3 separate regions of the Homo sapiens genome follow, and all the other regions are linked to region 3. The links are contacts of gene promoters, found by promoter capture Hi-C in blood cells and fetal thymus (Javierre and others, 2016). All regions are on one chromosome and are shown on one strand. Each heading gives the region's core, a stretch centred on a gene start or on the middle of the fragment in contact. The rest is flanking DNA. Distances are from core to core; before and after follow the strand shown. Region 1 holds the start of LOC102723413 (a long non-coding RNA gene). Region 2 overlaps LOC105373578 (a long non-coding RNA gene). Region 3 holds the start of SCTR-AS1 (SCTR antisense RNA 1).

What was found. The method cuts DNA at HindIII sites, captures the fragments that hold promoters and counts their contacts. A CHiCAGO score of 5 or more calls a contact.
Region 1: a fragment that was not itself captured here is called in contact with the fragment with the promoter of SCTR-AS1 in region 3 in 1 of 17 cell types (naive CD8 T cells); the score reaches 6.5 in naive CD8 T cells.
Region 2: a fragment that was not itself captured here is called in contact with the fragment with the promoter of SCTR-AS1 in region 3 in 4 of 17 cell types (total B cells, naive CD8 T cells, naive CD4 T cells and 1 more); the score reaches 8.9 in total B cells.

What each region holds. Positions count from the first base shown.
Region 1 is chr2:118,044,236-118,048,640 of GRCh38, forward strand. LOC102723413 (a long non-coding RNA gene) reads left to right here and starts at 331. Exons shown (of 3, transcript XR_923247.3): 1 at 331-511; 2 at 1,069-1,147. The HindIII fragment of the contact is 1,592 bases long and covers 1,939-3,530 here.
Region 2 is chr2:118,219,953-118,224,802 of GRCh38, forward strand. It overlaps LOC105373578 (a long non-coding RNA gene), which reads right to left. Exons shown (of 5, transcript XR_923249.3): 1 at 3,828-4,850. Among named protein-coding and RNA genes, the nearest start is that of THORLNC, 36 kb to the left of the region's middle. RefSeq lists an enhancer at 2,081-2,375 and a silencer at 4,594-4,643. The HindIII fragment of the contact is 1,790 bases long and covers 1,708-3,497 here.
Region 3 is chr2:119,474,547-119,479,089 of GRCh38, forward strand. SCTR-AS1 (SCTR antisense RNA 1) reads left to right here and starts at 1,908. Exons shown (of 2, transcript NR_147847.1): 1 at 1,908-2,412. SCTR (secretin receptor) reads right to left here. Exons shown (of 13, transcript NM_002980.3): 3 at 4,265-4,372. RefSeq lists an enhancer at 225-775. The HindIII fragment of the contact is 1,181 bases long and covers 1,235-2,415 here.

The sequences.
Region 1 (4,405 bases), core at 1,485-3,984, 1.4 Mb before region 3:
GAGAATTGTAATTCCTTACTCATCAATAAAGTGAGCAATGTTGGTAGAATGTGCACACATCGAGTAAGATGAAAACAGTCGAGTAACAGAAACCTGATTCAAATTTTGCTAAGAAACAAAGGGAGAGGTTGTTAACTCATTTATGTAACTCAGGACTCAACTGAGATGCTCAAAATCTGTACTCCTTGAAGGGTTTGTTTTTGTCTGTGTCTCTCAGCTCTGCTTTTCTCCACATTGGCCTCATTCTCAGGCAGTCCCTCTCTACCTGGTGACAAGTCCAGTGCTCTATGATGTCATGGTCCTCATGTCTCATCATCCCAGAGGAAAAGGGTGTCTCTTTCCCCACAGATGTAACCAGGTTCCTGTGGAGGACACGGCTTTGCTAAGCCTGCCTGGCTTCTGTGTCCTCCTCTGGGCCTGAGTGCAGAGGGTGAGAGTCCACATCCCCAGAACCATGGGGACTGAACAGGATTACTACAGAGCAGCAAAGAAGTGGGGCACCAAAGGAAAGGTGGGTTGTGGAAGGGATGGAAAGGGGAAGGAGATAATACATTCATTTTGACAATTTGAGGAGGTCTAGATTCAGGACATCAGGGCTGTCATCCTGGTTCTTTGGGTTTCTTGTCTTTTGTCTGTAAAATCGGAAGGTTGGAATTCTAAGGCCCTCTGTCCACCATCATCTTTCTTTAATTCTATGAATAATGGACACATAAAGCAGAAGCTTTTGAAGGTGCCTCTGGGCATAATCTGAGGGGCAGCAGAGCACAGTGGTTAGAAGTGTGAACTCTGGAAACAGATGTGTCATTCTGTGTGTGTCCATCATCTCAGGATCTGCTCAGTGGGCGTAGTCTCACAGAGCCCCAGGCTCAGAGAGCCTCACACTTATTTTAATGCTCTGCTGTCACTGTCTTGAAATTCTCAACAATTTTATGTTTGAACTTATGTTTTGCAAGTGAATTCTGACAGACATTGGAGCATACATGAGAGTAGGGAAGATAAGCACAGTATGTTAAGCCCAATAATAATAATGGAGTATCTGCTGTTCCTTGCTACCTTATTTCCTTACAGAGTACACAACACCTTGTGAACACAGAATTCTGGTGGACCCAGAATATGTGGGAGTTCAGTGAGACTTAAAGAGGAAAAGGTGAGCATGGCATATTGGCATATCTGCATATCTACCACTGACTTTTCGCTTGGGCCAGAACTTGCTTTGAATGCAGAAAGCAGGCCAAGGCATTCCAAGAAACATGAATTACAGGAAAGCCTACCATATGCTCTCTTATGCTACTTCTCTGTGTTGGCTAACTACTTGTACTGAAAATGATGACATAGAAGGAAAGAGAATTGTAATTCCCTACTCACCAATAAGCCCAAGGTGAGCAGTGTTGGTAGATTGTGCATATATCAAGTGAGATGAAAATAGTTGAGTTGGTTTTGTGCAGCATTTCTACCATTCTGGAGAGAGTGAAATACACACACATGAGCGACAAAATAACGAATTGTGAAATTTTGATTATTCTGTATATGAGTTACATGCTCTTTTATTTGCATTGAAAACACATTGCACAATATAAAAATGAATGGTAAAACTCATACAATGACAACATTAAATTTTTTATTAAAATAACATTAAATAGCAAATTAAAACATCATAACAAGTTGAGAGAGAGACTTAGAAAGAAAGGAAAAAGCTTTATATTTTCATACTTTTAATGGCACTTCTTTCCCTGCTTTTGGAACAAAAGGCTCCACATTTTGATTTTGCACTAAGCCTCACAAATTATTTAGCCTCCCCCTGAATCAGCAAATGACTTTACCTCCTGGTGATTCCGTTTCTCTATTTGTAAAGTGGGCACAAACACAGCAATGTCTCCATTATTGGACTGTTGCAAGAATGAACAGTGCTTAGCATTCAGTAGTTGCTCAATAAACATAAGCTTTTATTATAAAAATGAGTTAGTATAAGACATATCTTTATGATGTGAAATAGTCAATCTTTTTTTTGTTTGTTTGTTTTTGAGATGGGGCAGGGTGGGTCTCACTCCTGTTGCCCAGGCTGGAGTGCAATGGCATGATCATGGCTCACTGAAGTCTCAACCTCGGGGCTCAGGTGATTCTCCCAACTCAGCCCCCTGAGTAGCTGGGACTACGGGCATGCACCACCATGCCTGGCTTTTTTTTTTTTTAATTTTTTTTATTTTTTTTATTTTTAGTAGAGACAGGCTTTCGCCATGTTGCCTAGGCTGGTGGATTATTAGATCTTAAATTTCCCTCGATGGTGACTTTCTGTAAACCAAACTTGATAGCAAACTCCCCTCTTCTATACTTTTCCTATGTTGGAAAAGTTTATTGGAGTAGTTTGAATTTTTCACTGTAGTTTCATTAATAGGCTCACTTAATTTACTACTTAAATGATGCCATTGGCATTAGCAGAATACTTTATGTAGTCAGCAGCAGAACAAATAAAGTTAAGAAAAATATTTTAGGGGGAGAATATTGGGGATCAATCTTTTTTAATTCCAAATAAAAACTGAGGTAAGGATTAAGCTATTAAGTGAAAAAGCAGAAAAGGACATTTTCTACTTCTCAACAACAGATGGCGATGTAGCTAAGCAAATAGAGGACATTGTTCTCGGAGAAATTCTGTCTTCAAGTGCGAGGAAGCAAAGCTATAAACAACATATGGAAAACAATGAACATTTTAATTAGGTGTTAATAACTGAATATTGAATCTTTGTCTTCCACCTAACTCACAACAATGTTATGACAGCTAATTAATAAGTGATTGTAAAGGAAATGATTAATTATTTAGAGTAATAATTAGAATAGCTTACATGCTTGTAATCATAAAATGGTTTTAAAAGTAGACAGAGGCAAAGCAAGTTATTATTCTGTTGTTACAAAAATATTGCGGTGCCTCTTTCAGGATGATTCCTATTGTCATTCTGCATTGTCTGGATTTAATAAACAGGCACCATCATGCTTTTTTTTCCCATCAAGTTTCATTTCAGCCATGGAATAGAAAATCATGTATGTGTGGTTTTTAAAGGATTTTCTGTCATACTTATTTGAAATTATGTACATGGGAGTAAACTGAAGGCCTACCCATGTGGGGGGAACTTTTTGGAAAGATATTAACCACAGAACGAACCAAAACAAAACCCTGGACCAGAAGAATAAAGTCTCCCCCTAGAGTCTCTGTCTGTAGTGTCTGATTCTCATATATAAAATCAAAACTAAAAAGCAAGTGTATAATCCCAAACTTCTCCTCCTCCGCCTTCTCATTCTGTATTTCAAATCTCTTTGAACTGTCTCATGTCTTCAGGATATAATGAAATCCCTTGCTCTGGAAGGAAGCCACAATAGATATATTTCAAGACCTTTCCCTTTCCTTTCTGCTGGTAGCAGAGCTAATGTAGTTTACTTACTAGATGAGTCACCATGGATGCTGATACACTCAAGCCAAGTCTACCCTAGTGAGGGGAATTGGAGAATTGTGGCAATTATCTCATAATTTAAATAAACAAAGCTTCCCTCATTTTTGTTTCGGTTACCTGAATTTTTCAAGTGAATGTCTAATTTTAGTTTTGAATTATTAGAGGTTGTTCTTGCCTCAACCCTCTTAGTAGCTAGCAGAGCTCTGGACGGCTTTGAGGTGAAGTGCTTTAAGAATGTGCACCCAAGGCAAATGTATTCTGTGCTTTCTATTTTATCATCCCAAGCATTTCTACTTGGCATTTGGGGAAACAATGTGAATAACTCAAGTCTAGGATGAAACATTTCTGGAAGGCAGACAATATTGAGATCTGGAAATGGTTGTTTGGAGAGCCTAGATATTTCCAATCAGACAAAGACATTCATAATACCATGTCCTTCCAGACAATATGGACCCCAACACGTTTTGTGTGGACCACATGTTTCTCGGCTGGCCCCAGTCCAAGCCACCACCTGTACTGAAACTTCCAATTGGGAGTTTACGGCTGATCCTGGCTACCTCTCTTAATCACATCTTTCTTCTCAGACCATGTCCCCACCTTGCCAATGTGAATTCCTCCATCTTATTACCCCTCACTTAATGCGAGTGAACATTCGAGGGAGATAGAGGAGCTTTGCAAGTGTAAGGCATGGCTGTCATTTCCGGGTCCTAAAGCATCATATTGTTATTTAATACTTATATTCAATGTCTTAATTATTCAGCACCTTTAAGCCACAATTGTTTGGCTTCAAATAGAACCTGGGTGATGGTAGTTGCTAAGGTGTGAGCCCAAAATGACTATGATCTGCATTTCTTTTCATAGTGTGCATTTTTGAAGACTGACTCTCAACTTTCAGCTTTTGCCACTGCCTGTGATATGTCTTGCTCTATGTGACTCAGCATGAAAGGCTCATCTGGCAATCCCAT
Region 2 (4,850 bases), core at 1,353-3,852, 1.3 Mb before region 3:
GCCTCACTATGTTCTTGGTTACCATGTCCCCAATCTATTCTTTTAATTATTGGCTTGGTTTTTTTTCTGCTGTCAGATGACGATTGTGACTATTGCTGATTTTCTTTTTACAATGTAATATTTGAAGGTAACTCTTCAGCAATATGAAATTTATTTTTGGTTAAGGTATGTATTCCTTTTAACAAATGGATAGTACATTTTTCCAACAATGTTTAGTAAACAATCTGCAATTCAGGCCTTTGATTTGAGATGTCAACTTTATCTTACACTGAATTTTTATAAATACATAAAATATGTCCTTTAATAAAATACATCCTTTCTGTACTCTTTATTTGTTTAATTGCTTGGTCTGATTTTCACACCAGTACCATCCTGTTAAAGTTGTAGTTTTATAGAACATATCATTAGGTCAAATTTTATTCGTTTTCCAAATATGTCTTCACTGTTTTCATTGCATTATTCTCTTAAGTGAAGTTTAGAATTACTTTGCCAAATTCCCTTCTATCCCACACTTCTAACTCACTCATCCTATTGATTTCATTTATATACACAGTCATCCCTCGGTATCTGTGGGGGATTGGTCCCAGGACCTTGCTCAGATACCAAAATCCCCAAATACTCAAGTACCTGATATAAAATAGTGTAGTATTTGCATATAACATACACATTTCTTCCTGTATACTTTAAATCATCTCTAAATTAATTATAATTCCAAATATAGTGTAAATGCCATGTAAATAGTTGTTATAATGTACTGTTTAGGAAATGATGACAAGAAAAAAGTCTGTACATGTTCAGTACAGACTCAACTTTTTTTCTGATTATTTTTCATCTGAGATTGGTTGAATCCATGAATGTGGAATCCATGGATATGGAAGGCCGTCTGTATGTAAATTTGAGAATTGATGTCTTCACAACATTAAGTCTCTGCATTTAAGAAAACAGTCTTTTTCACCTTTATTTGAATCTTATCTTGGAATATTCATCAAGAAAGTTTGTAGGTTTCTCCATGTACTTTCTTCACAATCTTCTTAAGTTTGTAATAAAGACTTTTGAGTAAGGTGATGACAAAATAATTATTGATCTTTCTTGTTTGGGTTGTCTTAACATCATGCAAGTAACAAACAGCCTTGTGTAGGTAGATCCCTTTAACACAATTAGCTGGAAAGCCCCTGCTGATTCAGGTGTAGACAATTGCAACTAGCCCACGACAGCCAGCATGGCTGTTTCAGCTTCACAGACCTGGCACCTATCAGGGGCTCAGTTGGTTAACATAAGATTAATAATTCATCAAATGATTTCACTAATTTAACCCAATTGAGAATCATTCTCTCTCTGAGCTCAGTTTTGCAGGCAAAGCATTTGGGGCTCTATGTTACTAGAACATGGTCTTCATTTTTCCTCATATTCTGTAGTGCACACCATCAAGTTTATTGTCTCCTTGAATAAGAGACCTTCACATAAGATAGATGTAACACACACATATATGCATACTGCATTTTACTGGGTATATATTCCATTTTTTAAAATCTAGCTTGGCTTTGAGAAAGAAGTATCAACCTTTGCACCCTGTGGTCTTTATCACCAGGCAGGAAGGCCATGAAAAAACGTTCCTCATTTGAAGTCTGGGAAACCCTCCACACTCTAGTGCTGACCAGCACTTTTGAGAGAAACCGCAGATCCAGGGGCTAGTAATGTGTACTAACAAGCTTTGTATCCTGAAATCCATACTGCAGAGGGGATTGAAATCTACAGAAAGCCACATCTGTGTGTTCCTCGCAGTCCCCAGCAAGGAGCCTGAATACAGCATGTCATTATGATTAATTGTGGGTAATGAGGGTCTTATGAAACCAAGAAAGAGAAGCGTTTATTTCTCTGCTGCTACAGTTATAGCCTCCGATTTGTTTTCAAGCACTCTACAGAGGACAGCCAAAATAGAATAGGAAATGACTATTCTCCAGCCATCCTTTACTTCCCTGCCAGGCATTTCAGTAAATTAACAGGCAGGGACCGGTTGGGGATTTTGTGAGCCTTCTCAAGGATATGATAAAGAAAAGACTTCCCAGTTCAAAGAATCTGTATAAAACCAGGCTATAGGAGAGATCAGCTGTGAGTTCTGAGAAGCTAAGTGGTGCTCTGAGTTCAGCTACAAATCGGACAACAGACCACAGTGAATAAAAGAATTCTTTTATGGAAGCAGCGGGTGTTTTCGTCATTCTCTAACCTACCAGAAGGTGGTGCAAATTCACTGCTGATACAGTAAAGGAGGACGTGGCTTTCTTTTCCAGCCCTACCCTGTCCAAGTACAGTAAAACAGAGAGAGAGAGAGAGATTTAAAAATAAATTAGACAGGAATATTTAATCTTTTTAAAAACAAATAACTCCCCTTCAAGTTGTCTAACATCTGTCAACTTATTTCTTGCTGAGACTCAGTTGATGTGAGTCAAGCTAATAAAGAAACATGACACAAAGATTTGAAGAAGATAATTTTGAATATCTTAATGTAATAAAATTAAGATGGAGTATTTAATGGCTTAGGACAAACACTACATTAAGGAACTGGCCTATGTTCCTAGAGATTCTAACAAATAGCAAAGAAGTGGTTAATTGGACAAACATTTTATTCCATTAAAGCATCATTATAGTATTTTAATATTTGGACATAAAAAAATCTTTAGGATGAAGCACTATGAGTTTTGTGCAGCAGCACACGCATTTTTGAAATGAAAATTAACCTTTCTCCTAGGAAGATAATATAGGATGTAGAAGACCCAACAAGAGTGTTTAAAAACAAACAAAAACAAAACAAAAAACAAAACAGAAACCTTTCACTAACAACAACCAACATAACAAAACCCTCTTCATTTGGTGTGAGGGGAGTTGCTGGAAGCAAGCCCTGGCTTAGAGCAGCTCATCAGCTGTGTGTACTGGTGCCCACGTTTCCAATAGTCAAGAGTATTTTTAGAGATGGGACATCTACCTAGAAAGAAGAAAGTTTTAAAAAACAATTTGTTATTTCAGTAACATATCAACTGAGGGCACCATCAAAAATATTTTCCTAAATTCTCTTAATCTCCAAGACCACTCTATTATATCTAAACAGAGAAGGAGTATTTTTGAATAAAAAGAAAACAAAACAAACAAAAGCAAAACACCCCAAACCTTTTTATACAGAAAACAAAACAAAGCTCCAAATGAAGGCTTGAACATTTTCGAATTAGAATTTCTAAAGAAAACGCATCCAGAGAGTGACCTCAGAGTTCTGGGTAACTACTGATTTTTCAGCCCGAAATCGAGCATAGGTTTAGCAAACGTTACCAGGGAGAACAATGTATTTTTGTTTCTAACTCAAATCTATCTTTTAAAAAATTAATTTTCTCTCTCTATTGCCGGATTACATTTTCATTTAACTTTGGTGCCGTGCCTTGTAATTAGTTTTTCTTGATCTGTTTCTTGGAAGGAAAAAAAAAAGTTAGGGGAAAAAAAGATAAAAAACAAGCTTGTAGGTTGCAGTTAAAATATTTTGCTTTATCACGCCTGGCGTGAAAAGAACCAAGAACACTGAACCCAGGGCAGCAGCGAATCCCACGCCCCACGCTCCCTCTTCCCAAACCTCAATATCGTTGCTTAAAATCTTCCGGGCTTATTGTGAAGCCAAGGGCGCTTGGCATGGGAAGAGAGCCGCTCGTGATTTATTTGGGAGAGGGATGGGGTTTTGGAAAGGAAATTGGGGGGTTTACAAGGAGGACGGGTGGGTTTTACTCAACAACTTATTCTTGGGCGTTTTCGTGGACTGGAGAGGAGTTTCGATCCCGTCTCGGGCTCACCTGGGAAGCCCCCTCCTGGCGCCCGCTTTGTTTGGCGTTCCTTTAAAGCCCGGTGTTGGCAGAGCGACCCACAATGAAACAAATTCTCATTTTATGACGTCTTTCCCCCCGTAGGAGTCCGAACAATGTCTGGGGGCTTGGCACGCATGAAGATAAAAGAATTTTATTTTAAATGCGATACATGTCAGGATTAGACAGCGTTTCCTTTCAGCTAAACTACAGAGCGAATCTTCATTTCCTGTTTCACTGCTTCCCCCGAAAGAAACTTTTCTTTTTCTTTTTCTTTTTCTTTTTTTTTCTTTTCTTTCTCTCCCCCAGCAGAGAGTCCGAGAGAAAAGTGCTGGGCACAGAGCTCCCCACGAGGTCCCCGGAAAGCAGACTTAGCTCCTGATCGTTGTCAATCTTTGGGCAACCCGGGGCCTCGCAACGGCTCGGGTTTAGTGTGATCTGGGGAGGCTGCAGCCCAGTTCCGGCTACCGTGGGCGCCTGAGCAGAGCCGGGGCGAGTTGTAAACCTCAGAGAAAGGCACTTGTCCCCAGCAAAACGCTTGGAGAGGACCGTGCACGCTGTGCTGCCCCCGCCCCGAGACGCGCCGGGCCGCCGGGTCACCGGTTTTCCGAAAGGGACCCGGCAGAGACAAAGTGCCTTCGCCGCTGCGATAGGTTGGTTTTACTTTGCAATAAACAGCCCCTAATGGGACCGGGCGCCGGGCGGAGAGCTCGGCCCGGGGCGCGGCCTTTGCCGCCTGGCTCTGCGGGCCGCCCCGCCGGGCGCCAGGTTTTGGGGGGTGGCCCGGCCCCGCGTCCGCCACTGCAGGCCGCTCTCCTCCTTCCCGCGCACACAGCGGAGAAAAAAGGACGCAAACAGCATTTTACACTTTTCCCACTTTAGCGGGAATCGGAGGAGCCGGGCGAGAAAGCCCGAAAAGGGAGGCGGTTATTTACGACCGGCGGGTTGGAGTCTGGCACCAGATGGTGGGGGTCTGTCAGGCCCGGCCGCCCCGCCCAGCGCCCCGCAAACAGC
Region 3 (4,543 bases), core at 658-3,157:
ATGGCCGAGTCCTGTGGGTAGGAGCCCTGCCACCCCTTTGCTCTCACTGGAGCCTTAACAGCCCCAGCTGAGCGTGGCATGCTTCTTTACACAGTCTCCAGGGGCTGGGCCCCTGGCTAACAGGGTTTAGGGTCTAATCCTCACAGTGCCCCACTGAAGGAGGTGCTGCTGCCCATTTTACAGGACAGAACACCAAGGCCCAGAATTGAGCTATCATGCCCAGCCACAGCGTATGCTATCACTGTTCTACCCACCCACCGGGCCCTCTTCCTGAAGTCTCAGGGGCAGCGTCTAGGACCAGGAGACCGTGTCCTCTGAGATCTGGGCATGCCTGCCCTGTGGAGGCTCAGGAGGCCTGGAGCGCAGGTTTAGAAGCAGCCAGATCTGAGTCTGAAACCCAGTGCAGCCTCTTGGTCACTGTGTGACCTTCGGTGCATCATTTCTCTGTGCCACAAAATAATCACCCACACTGCAAGAGTGAGCAGGGAACATGAGAGCACACGGAAAATGCCTAGGCTGGTGCCAGGCACAGAGCGGGCACCGAGGCATCACTCCCCTCTCTTTTTGGCCTTTCTAAAATAGGCAGAAGTGGGAGGGGCTTGGAATCTTGGAATTTAGGCGAGGGGTGGGGAGGTTTCTGGAACTGAATCAAGAGAGTTAGGTTGTCAGATGGGAAACAACGGTGGTCAAATTTAGGCTGGGTGGATGGGAAAGCAAGTTAAGGGAACACAAATTCCCCCAAGGCCAGAATCGAAGGTTATAAGACAGCGCGTGCCTAGAGGCTGGGCTCCCTGTGGGCTCGCCCAGGGCAGCAGGCCTGCCCGTTTGGGGCCCTCTCCTCACTGACACAGCAGGACTCCCAAGACAGATGCTGCATGTGACCCAGGCCAGGTGCCCAGAGCTGCTAACAAGGCAGGGCCCCCTGCCTTCCACTCTGTAGAGCTGCAAAGCAGCTGCCTCCCCACTTCCCCAGGGCTGAATTCCTAATAGGTAAGGGAAACTTAACCAGGCACAGGCCAGTGTGCACCTCAGGGGACCCCTGAAAGGATGTTTGTGCATATATATATATATATAGATGTAGATATTTATATTATATATATAATATAAATAGATATTTATATTTATATTTGTATTATATTATAAATATAAAATAAATATATATATTATGTGCATATATATAAATATATAGATATATAGATATATATTTATGCAGTTCGGGGAAAGACTAGTCCAAAGCTTTCATCTGATTTTCAGAAGGCTCCGGGACCCTAATCAGGTTGGGAAGCATGACCGCTTTAAGGCCAGATCCTCACTAAGTAGGAAGAGAAAGAGGGCCAAGGGGATGCCGCTGGGGAATTGTGTTTTTTAATAAGGAACTCTGGAAGACCAGCGTCCTTTTCAGAATCAAAGGAATACACCCTAGAGGGAGCATTCTAGGCCTGGCATGAACAGAAACATCTGGGGGCAGAATCGGCCTGCGGTTTCTCCAGTCACATGGACCCCACCCCTCCTGTCAGGACCCATGTAGTAGGTGCCCTCAAGGAGAATTAATTTATTTTCCAGAGCACCTTGTCCTCACTGGGCGCTCCCCCTGGGGTTAGGGTTGGGGGCACCACCTAGGGAAGCCTGCCTTCCTGCCGGGAGATGAAGGGGCAGGAGTCTAATCAGACCCAGAAGTAGATCTATGGGGATGAAGGAGGGGTGGGTGGGAGTTCTTGATGATAAATTGAGGCCAGACAGCTGTTGACCTGTGCTCTTGGGCCACCCACCCCCAGGCTGGGTATGAACAACGTGGCCCCCACCACCCTGGAGGGAGCCCAGAGCCCAATAGGCAGGCCTTTGGTGTGGCCCTGCAGGCCCACAGCGACACCATGTGGCGGCGAGAAGAAACTGCAGCAGAGTCGGCACAGGACCCCAGCTTCCATCCTCACGTTGTGTGGACATGGTCCAGCTTCCTGCCGCGGACCATGAGCAATCCAAGGGTAGGGGAGCCTCAAGAGGGAGACACTGAGCCTTTACGTAATGAGGCAGGGAGGGGTTCAAGCAATTAATTGAGAAAGGATGTGACAGGACTGGCACCTGGTCACTTTGTGGCCGTGAGCACCAGCTCCGCCTATCCCCTCTGCAGGGCAGAAGGGACAGTGCTGCGGGAGGCGGAGGTGCTGTGGCTCTGGGAAGGCTGAAAAGGGACGGCTGCAAAGGAGAAGAGCTTCGAGTCCTTTCCATCAGGAGAAAAACCCGGTCAGCTGTGGAGGAGCACTGCACAGGAGTCAGAAAGTGGAGTCTGGGCGTGACCTTGCACCTGACCAGCCTGGGGCTCTAGGTCCGCCACATCTGGACTAATCTCCTGTGTCCTGAGCTCCCAGGACCCCAGAGGCAAGCATGGAGGGGCCACGCTGGCAGGTAAAGTTGGTAAGCTTGCGGGGGTGTGTGTGGCAGGGGTAGGGGAGGGAAGGTGGGAAGGAGAAAAAGGAAAAGAAGGGAGAGGAGTAGGGGAGAAGGGACAAAATTTATTTCCAAGCACAGCCTTACAGGGCAGGTCTTATTTATTTTCCCCATTTTACAGTCAAGAAAATTGAGGCTCCCCAGCAGTGAGCAACTTGGATCCCGGGGCTGACTGGCACCCAGCTAAAAGACATTTCCCCAGGTCCCTTGCAGTTAGATGTTGCCATGTGACTGAGTTCTAGCCGAGGGAATGTGGGCAGAGTGGGATCCTTCCCAGGCCCGCCCCTTATGAACCTCTGCTGTGTGGTCCTCCGAGTTCTTTCCTCTCCGCCAGTCAGCCTGGAAACTATGTGATGCCACGGTTGTGAGGTGTGGGGTGCTGGGGTCACCGTGTAGAGGAGAGCTGCCTGCTAATCAGGAATACCTGTTTCCTGTTCTGGACGTTTTTTGTTTGTTTGTTTGTTTGTTTGTTTGTTTGTGACAGAGTCTCACTCTGTCGCCCAGGCTGGGGTGCAGTGGCACGAGCTCAGCTAACTGCAACCTCAGCCTCCCAGGTTCAAGTGATTCTCGTGCCTCGGCCTCCTGAGTAGCTGGGATTACAGGTGTGCACCACCACGCCTAGCTAATTTTTGTACTTTTAGAAGAGATGGGGTTTCACCATGTTGGCCAGGCTGGTCTCGAACTCCCGACCTCAGGAGATCCGCCCACCTCGGCCTCCCAAAGTACTGGGATTACAGGTGTGAGCCACCGCACCCAGCCTGTTTTGGACTTTCTGTGGACAAATTTGCATGAAGGCTTTGAGATGTGGGGCATTGTCTGTTACAGCAGCTAGCATTACCAAGCCAGGAATTGGAGGAGCGGGTTTCAAGCCTGTCTACCTCATTTCCCCCAGTTCCCATAGTGTAGGGTGTTGAGTGAGGCTTCGAGGGAGCAGCATGTTCCCCAAATATGTGTGTGTGTGCACACATGTGCGTATGTACAGCAGAATTATGGTGAGAAGAATCTCCACTCCCTTCCCACAGTCTCTGAACCGTGGTCATCTTTGCCTTGCCTGACTTTGAAAGGCTGGTGGGTTTTAGTGTTAAATCACCTATTCTTGTTCAGGCTTCATCTGGCAGCTTTGCTGTCCTGCATGGACCAGGAAAGAGGGGCAGCTGCACAGCTTTTCTCAGTCCCTGTTATTATTACTCTTTACTGGATCAAGGGAAAAGTCCTGTGATCTGCAGGGGGTTTATGATGAATAAATGAGCCCGTATGTACATATAAAAATGTCCAGTGCATGGTCGACTTCTAATCAATGTGAGTCAACTAGGAAAATTCTTAAATCCGCAGCTGTCTTCTGGTAAGACAACCCCTCGCCCCAGGAGGCCAGGGGCTCCCAGGGAGCCAATTTCTCAGCAGGGCCTGACAGTGGAAGGAAGTATTTTGGAAGGCCAGGCCATTAGGGAGCCTGCCACTACCAGGAGGGGTTCCAGACATGGGGACTGGAACAAGGCCCCTGGTTGCTAAGGGGGCAGAAACATGGAAGGAAGGAAGAGAGCTCCTAGCTGAAGGGCCTGGGGAAGACAGAAGCAGGCCCAGCCTCCCTTATCGCCTTCCCCAGTGCACTGCCTCCTGCCCCCTTGCTTGACACCCTCAGAATTTGAGTCCACCCCACATTCCCAAGCAAGGCTTCTAATCCTTTGCAGTGATCTCCCCCATCATTGTACCCATACTTGTCCTCAGAGAAGGTTCCTTGGCCTCCTGCCTCTAAGCTGAGGCCCCACCCAGAGGGACACCCCTCAGCCTGTCCGCCAGGCCCCATGGGCCGAGTGGTTACCATTTCTGCTGGTGAGCATCCGGAGGAATCTCGGGCATTCCACCTCCACCATCCGGCCCGGCACAGAAGAGGGCCAGCAGCTTATGTTGTCCCACATCCCCTCACAACCTGCCAAGAAAAGCAGCATCAGACAAGGATGGGGGATGGACCGAGGGCTGCCCTACCATCCTGTCCACATCACCGACACCCTTGCCTGCCTGGAATTCCCACTAGACTACTTTCAAAGCTCTCATTAGGTGCTGACTCCTCAGGATCAGGAACCTATCCTGTCTAATGCAC